Regions from separate parts of the Homo sapiens genome. Here region 1 is linked to region 2. The links are contacts of gene promoters, found by promoter capture Hi-C in human tissues and cell types (Jung and others, 2019). All regions are on one chromosome and are shown on one strand. Each heading gives the region's core, a stretch centred on a gene start or on the middle of the fragment in contact. The rest is flanking DNA. Distances are from core to core; before and after follow the strand shown.

What was found. Contacts are between HindIII fragments. The study calls those that stand out against the background at their distance.
Region 1: a fragment that was not itself captured here is called in contact with the fragment with the promoter of FGL2 in region 2 in 1 of the 25 tissues and cell types used here (IMR-90 fibroblasts).

What each region holds. Positions count from the first base shown.
Region 1 is chr7:77,832,328-77,835,790 of GRCh38, reverse strand. All of the region lies in intron 1 of PHTF2 (putative homeodomain transcription factor 2), which reads right to left. Among named protein-coding and RNA genes, the nearest start is that of PHTF2, 35 kb to the right of the region's middle. RefSeq lists an enhancer at 374-874. The HindIII fragment of the contact is 4,552 bases long and covers 1-3,463 here.
Region 2 is chr7:77,198,437-77,202,132 of GRCh38, reverse strand. FGL2 (fibrinogen like 2) reads left to right here and starts at 2,314. Exons shown (of 2, transcript NM_006682.3): 1 at 2,314-2,952. The coding sequence starts at 2,340. All of the region lies in intron 2 of CCDC146 (coiled-coil domain containing 146), which reads right to left. RefSeq lists a silencer at 2,614-2,723. The HindIII fragment of the contact is 7,307 bases long and covers 1-3,696 here.

The sequences.
Region 1 (3,463 bases), core at 29-2,528, 630 kb before region 2:
TTATTGTAATTATACAGTATATAAACATATAACATATAAAATATGTGTTATCTGTTTATGTTATTAGTAAGACTTCCTGTCAACAGTAGGCTATTAGTAGTTAAATTTTGGGGGATTCAAAAGTTACAGCCAAATTTTCCACAGCACAGGGGTCAGTATCCCTAACCCCAATTGTTCAAGGGTCAACAGTATAATAATGCCTATGAGTATTCTTTGTACAAATATGGTCTCCCACATTGTCAGATTTTTAACCAATCCCCATGTTACAGAAATTCTATCAAATACTACATAAATGTTACCATGTACATCTCTCATTATTCTGAAACAAATTTGTCTGTTCTGGCATGACTCTCACTAGGCTCAGAAAACAATGTATTTCCACCCCTGACACTTTGCGTGTGTTATTATTATTCCTATTCCATTCTTTTCTCCACTCATACATCCTTCTAAATCAGCTCAAATCCTACTTCCTCCAAGATGAAGCTTTCTTTTTTTTTTCTTGTTTTTTTTTTTTTTGAGACGGAGTTTTGCTCTTGTTGCCCAGGCTGGAGTGCAATGGTGTGATCTCGGCTCACTGCAACCTCCGCCTCCCAGGTTCAAGCAATTCTCCTGTCTCAGCCTCCTCAGTAGCTAGGACTACAGGCGCCCACCACCACGCCTGGCTAATTTTTGGTATTTTTAGTAGAGACAGGGTTTCACCCTGTTGGCCAGGCTGGTCTCGAACTCCTGACCTCAGGTGATCCGCCCGCCTCGGCCTCCAAAAGTGCTGGAATTACAGGCATGAGCCACCGCACCCGGCCAGCTTTCCTTTGGACTAAAAAATGCTGAAGCTTAATGTCTCTCTTCTAGCACCAACATATGCTCAAAAATCTGTAATTTAAATAGAAATGTAAAGCAGTATGTGGCCACACAGGTCACTTGGTCATATGTAAACACTCTTAAGGAAAAAATGTGGCAACATTCTTTGTCTCTAAGTACTCAGTACACTGTAATATATGGTACAGGAAGTACAGCAGATAAAAAGCAATGACTAAGCATCAAGATAATTGGGTTCTAGATCCAAGTTCTGATACTAAGAGCTGTGTGCTCTTGAATAAGTTACTGAGTTCTCTGGACCTCAGTTTTCCCCAAGTGCCATCTAGCCAGATATTCCACAACTCAATAAAGGTTAAATAACAATTGTGTGAAAAGAAAAAGAGCTCCGAGCAGTCTGAGCCATGTGAGGTAGGCAAGCACAGACACGTGAGTATAGGACTTGAGTCAAGCCCCTACACCCAAGCCTGGGGGCAACTGTTTAAAGTCATTTTCTTCCTGACTAGCTGCCTCACTCATTTATCTTCATGTTTCTGGAATTTGTGATACAAAGAACAATGTATAGCCAATCAACAGTTTATGTTATTTTAACATAAATTCTCAGTAAACAACTCAGGAACTGCTTCTTCCTTCCGTTTAAAATTTTTTTTTTTTTTTTTTTTTTTGAGACAAGGTCTCACTCAGTTGCCCGGGCTGGAGTGCAGTGGCACGATCAGGGCTCACGGCAGCTTCGACTTCCCAGCTCAAGTGATCCTTCTGCCTCAGCCCCCAAAATAGCTGTGACTATAGGCATGTACCATGATGCCTGGCTAATTTTTTTTAATTTTAGCAGACACGAGGTCTGGCTATGTTGTCCAGGCTGGAAAAATGCACTTTTAACTGCTGCTAATCAGAGGGTATATTCAGAGCAACTCAAATCTGTGCTCCCAGTTGCAATCCTCAAGCTTGATTCAAATAAACCCTCTAATTGTATTAATTTTGCTCCAGCTTCTTCCTTTCAGGTCACCAATTCCAATAATGTACAGAAGTTTCTCTGAATTCTAACACACCCAAAAACATTAATATTACTACTTAAATTAGTGTTACATATATGGAATTTAACATAGTAGAAACTGTTAAACTAAATAAAAAATATCTTATTTAATTTATTTTTAGAGATAGGGTCTCACTGTCACCCAGACTGAAGTGCAGTGGCTTGATCATAGCTCACTGTAACATCAAACTCCTGGGCTCAGGTGACTGTCCTGCCTTAGCTTCCCAAGTAGCTAGACTCAGCAACAAAAGGGCACATAACATATCCTCATGCACATCCTGCTGAGAAGTATATCACACAAAAAGTTGCATGCCACCAAACTAGGCTATTTTTTAAATCTTTTGTAGAGAGAGATGGAGTCTCATTATGCTGCCCAGGCTGGTCTTGAACTGCTGTCTTCAGCAATCTTCTTACCTCAGCCTCCCCAAGTGCTGGGATTACAGGTGTGAGCCACTGCGCTTGGCCCTAAAGAGCTTTTAATTTTTTAAAGGTAGTTTTTATAAATCTCCTCAGACTCTCATATTATTATTCCATTCCAACAACCTTGTATCATTCTCTGCTGCTTACAAAATAAAATCCACAAGTATTTAGACTCTCTACAATCTGACCTTAATTGTCCAACATTATTGCTCATCATCTTCTCATATGTCTTGTTTCAACCATCCCATACTTTCAACATTTTTCTACCTCTGTGCCAAAATTAACACTTCTCTTTCTAAAACAAGGAAGATTTTGACAAGACTTCCAAAATTCCACTTTCTCCATAAGTTTCTCCCAAATTCTTCCATTTAATATTTCTCATCCTGTTCTGTGTTCCCCTTAGAGTAGCACTCCCTTTATCCAAGGCTTTGCTTTCCACATTTCAGTTACTGCAGTAACTGCAGTACAGTAAAATATTTGGAGACAGAGACCAAATTCCATAACTTTTCATTAGAGTATACTGTTACGATTGTCCTATTTTATTATTAGTTATTATCTATCTCTTACTTGCAGCAGTCCCCAACCTTTTTTAGCACCAGGGACTGGTTTTGTGGAAGACAATTTTTCCATGGCCAGGGTAGGGGGGATGGTTTTGGGATGATTCGAGAGCATTACATTTATTGTATACTTTATTTCTATTATTATTACATTATAATATATAATGAAATAATTATACAACTCACCATAACATAGAATCAGTGGGAGCCCTGAGCTTGTTTTCCTGCAACTAGATGGTCCCATCTGGGGATGATGGAAGACAGTGACACCCAAAGTGTATTGTTTATGTCCAGTCTATTCCATAATCTCATTTTGGTTGCTGTTAACTATACTACAGAAAACCCTGCTTCACAAAGATACGATGTTAGAAATGGAAACAGACTTTTCAGTGTTTTGTGGCAATCTCAGGATAGTCCGCCTTGACTTTAATCCAGAATGTATGGAGATTTGAAGTTGTCTCAAACATACTTTTAAGGCCACCATCATTTGTGACCTTAAGCAGTTGATCCTCTTCTAGCACGGACAAAGTCGATACAGCTGGCTTATTCACAAACAGCTTGTGGATCCATTACTTCCCAGTTCGGGGGTCTTCTGTGGTTGGGAAGTAATGCTCAAACTCTTTTGAAAGCTGAGATAGGT
Region 2 (3,696 bases), core at 1,065-3,564:
ATGTATGAGGAATAAATGAATGAAAGTGCCTGTGGCACGCATCTTATATATGCTCTAGCATAGTGCTGAGTATACAGAAGATCCTTAATAAATACTTTACTAACTAAATGCAGGGATTTATACTCTAGTCAGTCAAGGACATTTCACAATATCCTTAAGGACTAGGAACTAAATATCATTCCTATATATTTCTACTTTACAAAATGGTTTTTTTTTTTATCTATGTTGTCATCATGTCTCCTTTTTAAAATTATCTATTGTTTCATTTATTTCTTACCTCCCAACAGGGAAGTGTCACAGCTTGAAAATAGGTGAGAAGAAATGAGGTTAGGAGTTAGGGGATTAAATAGATATTTTTAGCTAAAAAGTTTTTGTCTAAAATTGGATATATTGAATGGAATGAAGAGAAAAACAATTTTTGAAAGAGCTATATGAAGATGGAAGAAAAAAAGTCATAAGGTGTGTAGAACATGTTTGACAAATTTATTTGGGAAGAATGTTACATTTATACACTGCATTTTTTTTTTTCTTAAGTGCTCTAAGTTTTTTTTTTCTTTTTTTGTGAGGGGTGGGGCTGGGGGATGGAGTTTCACTCTTATTGCCCAGGCTGGAGTGCAGTGGTACGATCTAGGCTCACTGCAACCTCCACCTCCTGGGTTCAAGTGATTCTCCTGCCTCAGCCTCCCGAGTAGCTGGGATTACAGGCACACGCCACCATACCTGGCTAATTTTTTTTTTTTTTTTTGTATTTTTAGTAGAGATGGGGTTTCACCATGTTGGCCAGGTTGGTCTCAAACTCCTGATCTCAGGTGATCCACATGCCTCGGCCTCCCAATGTGTTGGGATTACAGGCGTGAGCCACCACGCCCAGCCAAGTGCTCCAAGTTTGCATGACTATCATTCCTGTATGAGGGAAGAAATAGCTAAATTCCTCCGCTACAGCTACAGGAACAAAGGCTCATTAAAGCTGATGATCTGTTTACATGATCAGAGGTAGATCTAGGGTTGGAAGCCAGGTCTCCTGAGTATGCGAGAATAAATACAGTCATGGAAGAGTAAAGAGTCTGCCAACATTTTGAGAATGTGAATAGGATTTGGCTAAAATTAAGGGGATATACAGAAAAGTCATAGGAAATCAGGTTAAAGACATAAATATGAGATAGGCTACAGAGTGTTTTAAGTAATACAATAAAACATTTAGATTTTTGCCCATGTCAGTCATTTTGAAATTATTTTTAAAGCAAAAAAACCCTTTTTAAACAAGAAATCTTATGAGATGTCAATATGCAAAACAAATTAAAAGGAGGTGGTTTCTCTAACTGAAGCTGTTCCTCTTTCCTGCCTTCAGCCTCTGAAGAGAAAGTTAGAAAACTATTATCATTAATGCTACATGTTTTGAACAAGCTGATATACCAAGTGGCCCAGAGAGCAGGTAGAAGAACCAGCGTGGAGACAGAAAGCAAGAGGCCCGCCTGCCAGGGCTACCTGCAGAAAGAAAGGGCAAAGATGCTGTAGGCAAGAGAAGTTCAGGACAGACACTGGCATAGCTCAAAGATTCACATTTGAGCAGCTGTGGAAGATGACAGTACAATTACCAAAATGTCGAAGGGCAAAGGAGGCAGCTACTGGTTTTGATGAAAGACAATTATGTCCTTTTAAATGGGTCTTAGACATTTAGACATTAATATACACTATGCTACGGACAAAGGAATAGAAAGTAGCACTTTTTTCTCCACTAGTTTTCTTCTCTTTTTCAAGTAGATGAAGCAAAAGTCAACTGCAATAGTCAGAAAGCTGTACTTTGTTACACTTAGAAACTTCTAAAAGTGCTTAAGATTTCACCTGAAAGTCCAACATGAAGAAAATACAGGCTCCCCAATGCCCCATTCTAAGAAGGAAAAAGGACCATTTTCATTTTAGTAACGTTTCTGTTCTATAGACAGTTTGGATAACTAGCTCTTACTTTTTATCTTTAAAAACTGTTTTTCCAGTGAAGTTACGTATAATTATTTACTTCAAGCGTAAGTATACCAAATTACTTTAGAAATGCAAGACTTTTCTTATACTTCATAAAATACATTATGAAAGTGAATCTTGTTGGCTGTGTACATTTGACTATAATAATTTCAATGCATATTATTTCTATTGAGAGTAAGTTACAGTTTTTGGCAAACTGCGTTTGATGAGGGCTATCTCCTCTTCCTGTGCGTTTCTAAAACTTGTGATGCAAACGCTCCCACCCTTTCCTGGGAACACAGAAAGCCTGACTCAGGCAGCTGCCGCTATTAAAGCAGCTCCAGCCCTGCGCACTCCCTGCTGGGGTGAGCAGCACTGTAAAGATGAAGCTGGCTAACTGGTACTGGCTGAGCTCAGCTGTTCTTGCCACTTACGGTTTTTTGGTTGTGGCAAACAATGAAACAGAGGAAATTAAAGATGAAAGAGCAAAGGATGTCTGCCCAGTGAGACTAGAAAGCAGAGGGAAATGCGAAGAGGCAGGGGAGTGCCCCTACCAGGTAAGCCTGCCCCCCTTGACTATTCAGCTCCCGAAGCAATTCAGCAGGATCGAGGAGGTGTTCAAAGAAGTCCAAAACCTCAAGGAAATCGTAAATAGTCTAAAGAAATCTTGCCAAGACTGCAAGCTGCAGGCTGATGACAACGGAGACCCAGGCAGAAACGGACTGTTGTTACCCAGTACAGGAGCCCCGGGAGAGGTTGGTGATAACAGAGTTAGAGAATTAGAGAGTGAGGTTAACAAGCTGTCCTCTGAGCTAAAGAATGCCAAAGAGGAGATCAATGTACTTCATGGTCGCCTGGAGAAGCTGAATCTTGTAAATATGAACAACATAGAAAATTATGTTGACAGCAAAGTGGCAAATCTAACATTTGTTGTCAATAGTTTGGATGGCAAATGTTCAAAGTGTCCCAGCCAAGAACAAATACAGTCACGTCCAGGTATGTATAATAATGTTTTCTTATCATATGTTCATAAATGTTATACAGCTAGAGAGTATCTATAAACATTAACCTGAGTCAGTAAGTTAAATAGATGACAGATTAAGTCTTTTATTTATCAAGGTGCACAGGAAAAAATAAATATCTTCTCAAATATGACCACATAAATATGACCTAATTACAAAAATCATAGTTAGTTCTGTATCCACTGGAAGTCACTTTCAATTTTAAGATCTTATTTGTTAATGCCAGACCTACTTGCAAGCAGAAGTAGAGAGAATTTCTTGATGTTTTAGTGCATTTAACTTGTCTCTTCAATGAGGTGTTTGAAAACAATAAAGATAAGGCGATGTTCACAATTGTGCCTTGTTTGTTGGAAATCAGTTTTTCTTGTGATTGACTGACTGCCGCTTCTCATGGCTAAAGAGGTCTTTGAAAGATTTTAGCAAGTAATCTAGTTCTTAATCCCAAATATCTGGAGAAAATGGGAGAGTTTACAGATGGAATAAAAGCAGTTTCATATGTGTGCACAAATTTTTGCTTTGAGACCTAGTGGCACAAAAAATATTTTAAGGGGAGAGTTTTAGCATGCCACTAAGGGAAGGTATTCATATTTCTTTCTCTTTTACCTGAAGTTAGAATTCAAGCAGATAGAAGTAGAACCCATCCTCACCATCCAAATTACTTGAATTAACTTTAATAAATACATGTGAAATTCCACAGACTTAATCGCCTACTCCACCC